2 separate regions of the Homo sapiens genome follow, and region 1 is linked to region 2. Evidence: promoter capture Hi-C in human tissues and cell types (Jung and others, 2019). All regions are on one chromosome and are shown on one strand. Each heading gives the region's core, a stretch centred on a gene start or on the middle of the fragment in contact. The rest is flanking DNA. Distances are from core to core; before and after follow the strand shown.

Region 1 (5,922 bases), core at 684-3,183, 150 kb before region 2:
ACTAATGTAATACAATAAATACCCAAGTTGACTGAGAAAAAGTTCTCACCTGTCCCTGGCTCCCAACTTTTCACCTGACAATGGAAAAATCCCCAGAATTTCACAAGAAATACTGTGGGGTCCATGATACGAGGAGCTGCCCAGGTATTGATAACACCCCAAGACCTGCTAGAGACAGGACTAGAGCACTATCAATGGTGGGACTTCCTGGGCGAGGCCACACTGCCAGCAGAAGGGCAGGTGCCCATGTAGCGACCTCCCTGGAGAAGCAAGGCATGCATACAGTGGGGGAGGGAGCCAAAGTCACAAGACAAAGCAAAGCGACAGGTGTCCCAGCTTCCTCAAGGGAGGAAGCCAAGGCAATGCTGCACTTGTTGGGTTCAGGCTGGGGCACAGACTCCAGATAAAAACACATCCTCACTGACTCAGGCTCTTTCAGTTTCAAGAAAAAGCAATGGTTGGGGTCAGGAGCACAGCCTCGTAAGGTCCCCATGCACAGAAACCAGGAGGATCAGAAGGGCTGGGAGGATCTGAGGCAGCCCTGGGAACGGGAGCAGCCGGAGCCCTTCAGGCTGCCCTCCGGGACCTCCATTGCGACTCCTCTGAGCCGTTCTCTTTTCTCTGCCAACTATAATCCTCTGCAGTCACTTCTTTTTTTTTGAAACAAAGTCTTGCCCTGTTGCCCAGGCTGGAGTGCAGTGGTGGGATCTCAGCTCACTGCAACCTCTGCCTCCCAGATTCAAGCAATTCTCCTGCCTCAGTCTCCCAAGTAGTTGGAATTACAGGTGCCCACCACCATGCCCGGCTAATTTTTGTATTTTTAGTAGAGATGGGGTTTCACCATGTTGGCCAGGCTGTCTCGAACTCCTGACCTCAGGTGACCCACCCACTTCAGCCTCCCAAAGTGCTGGGATTATAGGCATGAGCCACCATGCCAGGCCTGTATTCATGTCTTTCCCCTGCCTCATAGCTTCTGCTCATTGCTAGTTTCTTCCAATGCCACGTGACGGCCCCTCCAGCCTTTCTCTTAACTCAGTGCCTTCCAGCTCAACTTCCTTTTGTTAACAGCCTCATCCTCTTGCTATTTCCTGGTTCAAATTCTTTCCCAGAGAAATGGTCTGATTTTCCCAGCTCATCTCTTTGCCAAAACCAACCAGAGATCCCCGACCAGCCTTGTTCTTGTCACCTCCCATTTCCTCCATTGGTGAGGGAGGGATCCCCTGCTCTAAATAGGACAAGATGGCCAAAACAAGACATTTGACACTGTGCAGGTGAGACTGGCAGCAGTTTACTAGTCACAAATACAGTCTACTGGGGAAAGATATCATAAGCCACACAGGGCCACATGGGGTCACCCTCAGGAGCAGAGTGAACCAGCCAGGGCTGTGGGAGGCAGGCCTTGTAGTAATAAAAGGATGAGATGCCCCGGATTCCTGTAGGAGGATGTGATTGGCTTGTTTGAATAGTTTCTCAGGCTGGCAGAGAAGTGAAACCCATTAAGTAGAAAACTGGGTGGCATGCAGCTGGTCCAGATGATAGGAAATTAGCCAGGTGGGGACCGAGGGCAAGGATATATCTGGTGAGAGGCAGGGAACTCAGGGTTAGGTCTTTGGGGCCCTGTGAGGCATAAAATGTCACAGCAGCACGTGGTATTTCAGGTCTTACAATACAAGCCTGTGCCCTCAGCTGTGACCCATTTGCACCCAGAACAACACACTGCTGGTTACAGTTATTTAAGGAAGCATCTTTTCCTGAGGACCTTAATGAAGACCTGTGCTCACTCCACCCTCCTCTCCTCTCTGTGGTGGCTGCTGCCTGGATTCCAGCTTCAGCCACTGGACTTGGGATTTGGAACTGATGCCTGTGGAACTGGGTCTCTGTGAAGAGTGGGGAACCTGCTGAGACTTGTTCTTGGGAATTGAGCTATAGACTAGAAGATTGTGCAGTAAACAAGAAGAAAGATCACCAAGATCGTGACATTGGAGACCTTGCTCTACTTTAATAAAAACTAGAGATAAGTACTGGTCACATTTTGTGGCATTTCCAGGACTGGAACTTCCCCAGTCCTTGTTATTTTTGACTCCCCAGATGTTTCCTGAGGATACCCTAGAACTTCATGTCCACCAGAGGAGACTGCCTTTCCCACATATTCACCTGGACAACCAGAAATGAAAAAGTGCACTTGGAGTGAGTCCTTGACCCAGGCAGCATTTTATTCTGAGGAAGCTGGAAGGTGAATTCATGAAGGCACTGAAGGCTGCTTCCCATGCACAAGACACAGGAAGATAGGAAATGCAGAAGGAGGAGGAGGTGCCGGAGAGGTGAGGACAGGGGCTGGATGGACGCTGGGTGGAAGGCAGGGCTCGGCACTCCAGTGTACTAAGGGAGTGGAAGGAGAAGGGAGGCTGGGTGCCAGCCGAGCTCTGAAGGAGATACAAGTCCGTGTCAGCCACTGACTTGAACCAGAGAAGAACGGGTTCAGGCTTTAGATGATGTGGATGAAGAAACCACTGGGGACATACCATGAGCAGGATTTCCAAGAACAGAGCTATTTGCACTGCAAACACAGCCAGCTGCTAGCTGCCAGCACAGCTAAGCAGAGACATGGAAATTCTAGGGGGTTTGGCCAAGAAAAGCCCTGGATGACAATATCAGGAGAATTGCTTGGTTGCTCTGGAGTAACTTTGATGTGATGAAGCTGAGGTTTCTCTGAAAGAGTGGAAAACCCCAGGGTGTTATGCCGGATTACGGGTCTTGATCCTCCTTAGCAGGGCAATTGGAACTTCTAAATCCTCTCTACCCACCCCTCCCACTTTAACCTGAATTCTCCTTTCCATTCCAGCTGCCTCCAAGACGTCAGAGAATTTCCAGCCAAGACAGACGGACTCCAGAATGCCACTGTGGGACAATTTTGAAGCAAGAAAAATTAACGTGCAAAGTCATCCTGGAGTCTGGGGAAGAAAGAGGCATTTCCTCATGTTTAACAAGCGTTGGAGCTCAAAGAGTGAGCTTGGGAGCCTGTCCTGTCACGGTTCTGATGGGACATAGGGTCGCTTACAAATGAAAAGAAACGTTTTGTCACATGGGGCATCATTCCAGGCCTGAAGTGAGGGAGCCTTTATATTGCCACAGTGTTCATTGTTCCCAGCATTGTTGGGCTCACCTGGAATCCAGAACCTACCAAGAGCGGGGAAAAAGATGGATTTACAAAGTGGAAAATCAAAAAGAACTTATTTCCAGTGAAGAAATGAGTTAACTCAACCCAAGCTTTTGTCCTAGGGAATGGCATAGCAAATGTCTGCACCCAAGCCTCAGAGGAAGGGGACTGGTGAGACTTCGACCTCTAAGCTTTCACATGCCCCAAGTCCAGGCCAAACCAACCCACCACTTTCAAGTCCCTACACAAACCCACACTGTGAAGACCTAGACTCATGACAAGATCCCTGAAGCTGGCCAGGTAGAAGGCCTTGTTGCCAAACCCCAGAGGGCGTGGAGGGCTCAGGTCCACAGCCAGTTGGTGACAGGGTTGTGCTCGATCTTGGTTGCAATGTTCCTGTCACTCTAAGACAGGGAAGAATCAGAAACCCTGTCTCATGGGGAACATCGCCCCCACTCCCTTCATGCCCTGGCCATGGCCGGGGAAAGTCAGGCTGGCACGGAGGGCTCCAGGGGCTTACCTCACACTTTGGACCTTGTTGAATGGCGTGTCATCCACCCAGGACCAGTCCCCTTCCATCCCTGCTTTAGTCAGGCCAATCCAGTAGATGAGTCCCCCCGCTGTTTTATACAGAAACTCCTGTAGGAAAGACAGGATAAGCAGAGGTGCGGCCACACTTGGAGCTTGATCATCTGTCTCTGGGTGTTCTTCACCTGCGCTCAGTGACAGCCCTGACCCACAGATGCGCTGCACAAACTGGCCTCTCAAGCTTCTTCCTGCCCTTGCCCAGAGCCCAGATTTCATCTTCCAGATTATGATGTGTCCCTGCTCTGCAGCTAACAAGCTCAGGACTCAAGCCTTTCTGCCACTCAGGAAGCAGGTGCTGAAGCACAGGAAGGCCTCAGCTGAACTCCAGAGCACGGACCGCAAGAGAATGGTTCATATGATAATACCTGAATTAAATGAGCCCTGAATCCACATACGGCACTGTGCTGAGTCGTCCATATGCATTCTCTCCTTTCCTCTGAGGCAGGTGCCATCACCATGCATGTTTCATCAAGTGAGGGCCAGTGAAGTTTGCCCAGTGAAGTTGGGTATTCCACCCAAGCTGCTAGGACTAGTTAGATGGCAAGGTTCAGGCTCTAGAACTACGCCAGAGCCCAGGCTCTGACCTGCTCTGCTATCCCACCTCCCAGATGAAAAGGGCCTGCCCAATTTCTGCCTCACCAGGCAGGAGACTTCTTGAGTCATGTGGAATCATTAAGGCTGTTCACAAATATTTCTTTTTTTCTGGGCACATGGAAAGTAGATCCTCTCTGCCCTGTTCCAGGAGTACTGGAATCCAGGATCCTCCCAATCCAGGAGTACTGCATAACTTACTTAACTTAATTAACATAACTTAAGCTAGTGAAATGTAAGCAAAAATGAGGTATGTTAAATCTGGGCAGAAGCTTTGCACAATATGTCAAGTTCCCCTTTCCTGCCCCAGCAATTGTGGAGACATATTAAGATGAAGACTCCTTGGGCCTGGGTCCTTGAGTAGCCACAGTGAGCACAGCCCCCTTGCCGGCCCTTATTCGACATGCTACTGAGAACCAATCCTTCTTCATTAGGTCATCAATATTTGGGGATTTTTGTTCACGCAGTATAATCTTGCCCATCCTCCCTGGCCCAGTGCTCATACGCCCCCTTCACAGAGCCCATAGGCACAGCACTCACCTGCTCACTCTCTGAGGTCACCGAGGTCAGGTGTGAATTCCTGGACACACAGAACTGCTCGGCACTATACCAGGTCTTTGGAATGAGAGAAAAGTAATAGAAGTTCCCCTTGAAGTACTTCCAGCCTTGAGAAACCACCTGTAGAATATCATCTAGAGAACAAGAGGTAAAAGTGAACGCTGGTATTCTTGATTTCTTGGGATGCTGGCTTGGTGGGGGCACTTGAATGAGGTCTCAGAGACAGCAGCAAATGGAGCTGTGCGCTGGTGTCCTTGGGTCCTTGTATAGGAGATTAGGGACACTCTTTCAAATCCTGAAAGTCAGACAGAGACTAATAGAGTCTCTGGGACTGGAGAGGTTATAATGCAAGAGGTTGGACAAAGAGTGTCTTCCCCATGATGAGGAAGCAACCCTCCATCGGCCATGACAAGTGGCTGAGCCCCTGGACTCTAGAAAGGAACTTGATGGGAAATGACTAGGTGTGGGCCAGGGTGGACATCCCCTAATGCTTTTACATTCTGCACTTTTGTGTGGGAGCTCTAGCTGGACCCTGGTCTCTTTTCTCCTAACAGCCCCTAAGTCCTCCCCAACCTCAAGCCCTCTCTCCTTAACTTCCTAGCCCATGGCTGCCCCTCTTTTGCCCCCACTCTCCTCCCCAACCCACCAGCCCAATGGCCTCAGGTCTGGGACAGGTAAGATCCCATGGGCCACTGGTCAGCTTCAATGTAATTTTCTGAGTCACTTACTTTGTCGTTTGAGCAACTTGCTCATATTCTCCAAGCTGCCCTGGAGTGCCCGGATCTTTGTATTTAAAGCACTGGCTTTCTCCAAATCACTTTTTAACTCTGGGATTTGGGCATTTAAGGTACTGACTTCTTCCCAACTTCTTGTTAAGATCTGGATCTGTGCGTTGGCCTTCTCCACACTGGTTTTTAACTTCAGGAACTGAGAACGCACATAACCCAGGCTCTCATTCACCATCTGGATCTGAACGCCAGCTGCCTCCATGCCGTCACTATTCTTTTTAATTTCAGAATCCAGGGTGC
Region 2 (5,985 bases), core at 868-3,367:
TGTGAGTAAAAGAATTCCTAGAAGACAAAACCACTGATAATTAAATGTTTAACCCTTGTTGGTAATCAAAGAGCCACATTAGAACATCATTTCCACTACCAAATTAGTGAACATTTACTTAAAATCCTAATATCTGATGCTAGCAATGGTTTGAATAGTTCTTCTTTGAGTAATAGCAGATTCACAGGTAGTGCTTCTCTGCTAGCACTGTTCTCATTGTTTGCATTCCTTCATTCCTTGTAAAGTAGGTGCTATTATCCCCATTTTGCTGCTGTAGCAACTTGTAGGGACCAGCCCCACAGGGTGGGTGGGTTTTTCTCCCCGTGTGCGGAGATGAGAGATTGTAGAAATAAAGACACAAGACAAAGAGATAAAAGAAAAGACAGCTGGGCCCGGGGGACCACTACCACCAAGAGGGCAGAGATCGGTAGTGGCCCCGAATGCCTGGCTGTGCTGTTATTTATTGGATACAAGGCAAAAGGGGCAGGGTAAGGAGTGTGAGTCATCTCCAATGATTGATAAGGTCACGTGAGTCACGTGTCCACCGGACAGGGGGCCCTTCCCTGCTTGGCAGCCGAGGTGGGTGGGGGTGGGGGCGGGGACAGGGGGAGGGAGAGAGAGAGAGAGAGAGAGGACAGCTTACGCCATTATTTCTGTGTATCAGAGACTTTTAGTACTTTCACTAATTTTGCTACTGCTATCTAGAAGGCAGAGCCAGATGTACAGGATGGAACATGAAAGTGAAACAGGAGTGTGACCGCTGAAGTACAGCGTCACAGGGAGATGTTTAGGCCTCCAGATAACTGTGGGCGGGCCTGACTGATGTCAAGCCCTCCACAAAAGGTGGTGGAGTAAAGTCTTCTCTAAACTCCCCCTGGGAAAGGGAGACTCCCTTTCCCGGTCTGCTAAGTAGCGGGTGCTTTTCCTTTGCATTGATGCTACCGCTAGACCACGGTCCGCCAGACCAGGGTCCGCCAGACCACGGTCCACTTGGTAACCGGCGTCTTCCCAGACGCTGGCATTACCGCTAGATCAAGGAGCCCTCTGGTGGCCCTGTCCGGACATAACAGAAGGCTCGCACTCTTGTCTTCTGGTCACTTCTCACTATGTCCCTTTGGTTCCTATCTCTCTATGGCCTGGTTTTTCCTAGGTTATGATTATAGAGCGAGGATTATTACAATATTGGAATAAAGAGTAATTGCTACAAACTAATGATTAACGATATTCATATATAATCACGTCTATGATCTAGATCTAGATCTAGTATAACTCTTGTTGTTTTGTATATTTTATTATACTGGAACAGCTTGTGCCCTCGGTCTCTTGCCTTGGCACCTGGGTGGCTTGCCGCCCACAGAAACTAAGTCAGATAACTTGCCAAAAGCCACACTGCTGATGTGCAGCGCACCCGCTTCACTGCAGGTGGAAGTGGAAGTGAATAATAACCTTCCTGGAAGGCAGTCTGCAAGCCCATATTGACAGCTGAAAAATATTCATTCCCTTTCACCTAGTGATTCGACTCCCAGGAATCCATTCTAAGAAAACAACCAGAGTTGAGCCATTTCGTTCTTGGCAGCACATGTGAAACAATGGCACATCCATTATGACGCTGGGCTCTGGTTGCGTCATAATGTACGTTTAGTATGTGGAGTGACAATGGGCGCTAGCTCGTAATATAATGCTATTAATAAACGAAAAGAGATACAAAAAATAGTCATGATATGCATATATATTGCAATAAACCATGATTTCTGTGCGTGGTGGGATGGTAATTTTTAATTTCCACATTGAATATTTCTGTTTTCTACTTATTAGTTTGATAATCGGAAACAAAAGCCAAGTGTCTTTGTTGTTTGTGTGTTTGATGCTGAGTTTCCCGGGCAGCAGGACTGGGAGGTTGAGTGGGGGTTTTGGCTCAGACCGGGAGCAGAGCGGCGGGTGGGGAGCGGCAGGCGGGCAGGGTCCCCGGAGGCCCCCGGGCTCTGCCCCTCCAGCTAGAGAGGCAGCCGAACCCTAGCGGCCTGGAAGGGGCCGGGAAACCGCGGCCAGCTGGCAAGGAGTGGCCCCCGGGGGCGGGGCGCCGGCGGGTGTGTGAGTAGCCCGCCCGGCCCGGGTCCGAGTTCCAGCCCCGCGATGGCCTCCGCGGGCAGCACCGCTCGGCGGGCGGGCTCCGGAAGCTGGCACTCAGAAAGGGGAGAAGGGAGAGGTGCTCGGCCGCAGCCAACTCCAAGTGGCTCCATGCAGCAGGCGAACAAAGTCTCCTTGAAGGCCACCTGGACTGACGCGGAGTCCAAGCAGCCCAGGTGGGTAGCGGGAGAAGGTGTCCCGGCTGCAGGGAGCGAGAACCCGGCCCAGCGCCTCCCTGGTGGGCAGGGCCTGGAGCGGGCGGGGGCGGAGGCTGCGGCCCGAGAAGCCAGCAGAGACAGGCTGGGGCCAGGGATCGCCTCCCGAGAGGTGCCTAGGCCGTGGCCCAGAGTCGCTTCCCCACTGCCCCGCCCACCAGCCAGGCGGGGGCCAGGGATCGCCTCCCGAGAGGTGCCCGGGCCGTGGCCCAGAGTCGCTTCCCCACTGCCCCGCCCTCCAGCCAGCCCCTGCCCGACCTCGCAGACCACCTCAGTGCGCAGGCGACTGCCCTCGCCAGGCCGCGCCGCCCTGCCTCGCTCACCCCGCCCCGCGCTGACCCCAGCCCCAGCAAGGAGTCCGACCAGACGGCAATCGACCAGACGGCGATCGGGAGCTACTACCAGCTGTTCGCAGCGGCTGTGGGCAACGTGGAATGGCTGCGATTCTGTCTGAACCAGAGCCTCAGGGAAATCCCCACCGACGACAAGGTAAGGTCTTGAGTGTTGGGGCAAAGACCGAGGTCCCTCTCCCGCTACGCTGCTCGGAGTGGTCACCTGGAGAAGAGATATCCTTTTCTGGGTAGATCTTCCTAATTTAACTCATCTTCTGGCTGTGGAAGGACCATTTTGGGGGCAGGGAGGTTGGGTGGGCTGATGAACACACACTGGTTAATTAGCAAAAGGGTGTGAGCATTCCTGGGGACACAGGGAAGAAAGTGAAGGTAACCCCAATAAATTTATATAAATTGTGGACCCTGGGACCTCAGTCCCACTCAGCCTCCTCCTGCCTGCTCTGAACCTCACAGGGCTTCACTGCCATCCACTTCGCCGCCCAATGGGGCAAGCTTGCATGCCTGCAGGTCCTGGTAGAGGAGTACAAGTTTCCCGTGGACCTGCTGACCAACAATAGCCAGACACCCCTGCACCTCGTCATCCACAGGGACAACACCACCGTGGCCCTCCCCTGCATCTACTACCTGCTGGAGAAAGGCGCAGACCTCAATGCGTGAGTCCAGCCTGCTTCAGGAGGGAGGCTTCGGGCACAGGCACGGGCACAGCCCTACTTCCAGGCAGGCAAATCCATGCAGGACAAGCAGAGGGGTTGCTGGAGGTGACAAGGATTGGGTCCCACATAAAGCAGTCAGGAATCCACATGGTGTAATAAAGAGACTGGGCTTTAGCCGGGCATGGTGGCTCATGCCTATAATCCCAACACTTTGGAAGGCCGAGGCAGGCGGATCACCTGAGGTCAGGAGTTCAACACCAGCATGACCAACATGGAGAAACCCCATCTCTACTAAAAATACAAAATTAGCAGGGCATGGTGGCGCATGCCTGTAATCCCAGCTATTCGGGAGGCTGAGGCAGGAGAATTGCTTGAACCCAGGAGATGGAGGTTGCGGTGAGCTGAGATGGTGCCATTGCACTTCAGCCCGGGCAACAAGAGCGAGACTCCGTCTCAACAAAAAAAAAAAAAAAAAAAAGATTGGCCTTTAACAGACCTAGTCTACATCCCAGCTCTGCAACTTGCTAGCAGACAGCAGGACCTTAGGCAAGTCACTCAACCTCTATGCCCCAGTACTCTGGCTCCCAAACTTAGGTGTACATTGGAATTACCTAGGGAGCTTAAAAAATATGAACACCTGGCCGGGTGGCATGGTGGCATAGTCCCAGCTACTTGGGAGGCTGAGGCAGGAGAATCGCTTGAACCCGGGAGGTGGAGGTTGCGGTGGGCCGAGATTGCTCCAATGCACTCCAGCCTGGCAATAGAGCGAGACTGTCTCAAAAAATAAAAAATAAAAAAAATTAGGCTGGCCGCAGTGGCTCACGCCTGTAATCCCAGCACTTTGGGAGGCTGGGGCGAGCGGATCACGAGGTCAGGAGATCAAGAACATCCTGGCTAACATGGTAAAACCCCGTCTCTACTAAAAATACAAAAAAGTTAACCGGGCGTAGTGGCGGGTGCCTGTTGTCCCAGCTACTTGGGAGGCTGAGGCAGGAGAATGGCGTGAACCTGGGAGGCAGAGCTTGCAGTGAGCCAAGATCGTGCCACTGCACTCCAGCCTGGGCGACAGAGCGAGACTCCGTCTAAAAAAAAAAAATTAAAAAATATAAACACCTGTGTTCCAATCCAAAGGCTGTGATTTAATGGGTCTGTGGTGTGACCTGGGCTTGGGAAGTCAGAAAAGATCCCCAGGTGCTTCTAACTTGAAGCTAAGTTTGGGAACCTCTGTCTCAGTGTCTTCAACTGAAACTTGGGAGAATAGCAGTACCTATCACATGGGACTACTGTGATCACTGAAAAGTGCATGGCATATAGGAGACTGCATTCATTCAAAGTATCAAGTATGCACTATGTGCTAAGCACTATGCTAGAGTCACAGAAATGGTCCCTCTCCTCACGAAGCTGACATTCTAGTAAAGGAGCAGACAGTGAATTAGCAAACAAATAAATGAACAAAATCCTGACAGAGCATGGGAAGTGGTTATGAAAAAATAAACGGGGTGATGGTGTAGGGGGTAAAGCAGGTAGGGGGAGGATCTATTTTGGATGAAGCAATCACCTCTAAGGAGGTGACATTTAAATTGGAACCTGAAGACAGAGTGAGCCAGCCATGCAAAGAGCCAGGGAAAAGTGTTCCAGGTAGAGGTAACATCATATGCAAAGACCATGTGTTGGGAAAGAGTGGGCAAGGTCAAAGGATAAGATCGAGGAGGTTAGGCCCAGGTCATGCAGATCTTGTGGGCATACGGAATCTGGTGAGGCATAGGGAAAGGGCAGGGGGCTGGTTGGTTTAAGAGTGGATGAGGTTAGTGGTCTCTGAACCAAGCCAGCTCTCCTTCCAGCAGTTCTTAACTATCACATACCTTCTAAAGTCAGATTTTTACTGTTCACTTAGTCCAATTCCTCCCTTTACAGTAAAGGAAATTGAGGTGCCAAAAGGGACAGACATAGCTAGGATCACCCAGTGGACTGATGGTAGAGCAGGGCTTGGAAACTGGTGTGTCCATCTATCTGATGGACAGATGCTCTTTGTCTTTCCTTTCTGCCCTTATCCCCACTGGTGGGGCCTTCCACAGTCAGACATGCAACGGCTCCACGCCCCTGCACCTGGCAGCCCGTGACGGCTTGCTGGACTGTGTGAAGGTCCTGGTGCAGAGTGGCGCCAACGTCCATGCCCAAGATGCCATGGGCTACAAACCCATTGACTTCTGCAAAATATGGAACCACCGTGCCTGTGCCCGGTGAGAGTGTGAGAACCACCTGGAGCCTGCCCACCCCCTTCCCCTCCCCCAGCCTTTTCCCTAGGGCCCTCACCACAGCTGAGCCTTTAAGGGGAGGGTTGGGAAGCCAGACAGCTGGAGGATGCGCCTACTGCCCAGGATATTTTGGATGAGGCAATCACCTCATCACCTGGGCTTGGGGGTAAGTCTGCCCAGGTCCCCTGCTCTCTGGGTTGATCACTGCCCTCCTTTCCTGCCCTGGGGCCCCTGGCTCCTCAGCAGGAGGGTGGTGACCAGGTCATCAAGGACTTTCGTCTTTCACCTAAAGGAAGTAGGGAGCCAGAGGGCCCCGGGCAATGGGGATGGCTCATCTTGCTCCTCTCCCTCTGGCCACTCCCCTCATCCCCATCCAAGCCCT

What was found. Contacts are between HindIII fragments. The study calls those that stand out against the background at their distance.
Region 1: a fragment that was not itself captured here is called in contact with the fragment with the promoter of ANKRD53 in region 2 in 3 of the 25 tissues and cell types used here (IMR-90 fibroblasts, mesendoderm cells and thymus).

The regions. Positions count from the first base shown.
Region 1 is chr2:70,828,024-70,833,945 of GRCh38, forward strand. CD207 (CD207 molecule) reads right to left here. Exons shown (of 6, transcript NM_015717.5): 3 at 5,623-5,922; 4 at 4,877-5,028; 5 at 3,678-3,796; 6 at 2,188-3,177. The coding sequence ends at 3,027. Among named protein-coding and RNA genes, the nearest start is that of CD207, 4.8 kb to the right of the region's middle. RefSeq lists an enhancer at 2,490-3,689. The HindIII fragment of the contact is 6,837 bases long and covers 1-5,352 here.
Region 2 is chr2:70,976,513-70,982,497 of GRCh38, forward strand. ANKRD53 (ankyrin repeat domain 53) reads left to right here and starts at 2,118. Exons shown (of 6, transcript NM_001115116.2): 1 at 2,118-2,303; 2 at 2,585-2,831; 3 at 3,149-3,348; 4 at 5,424-5,588. The coding sequence starts at 2,134. The region is part of intron 1 of LOC105374795 (a long non-coding RNA gene); the gene reads right to left. RefSeq lists an enhancer at 748-1,017 and silencers at 2,045-2,134, 2,495-2,554. The HindIII fragment of the contact is 11,444 bases long and covers 1-4,800 here.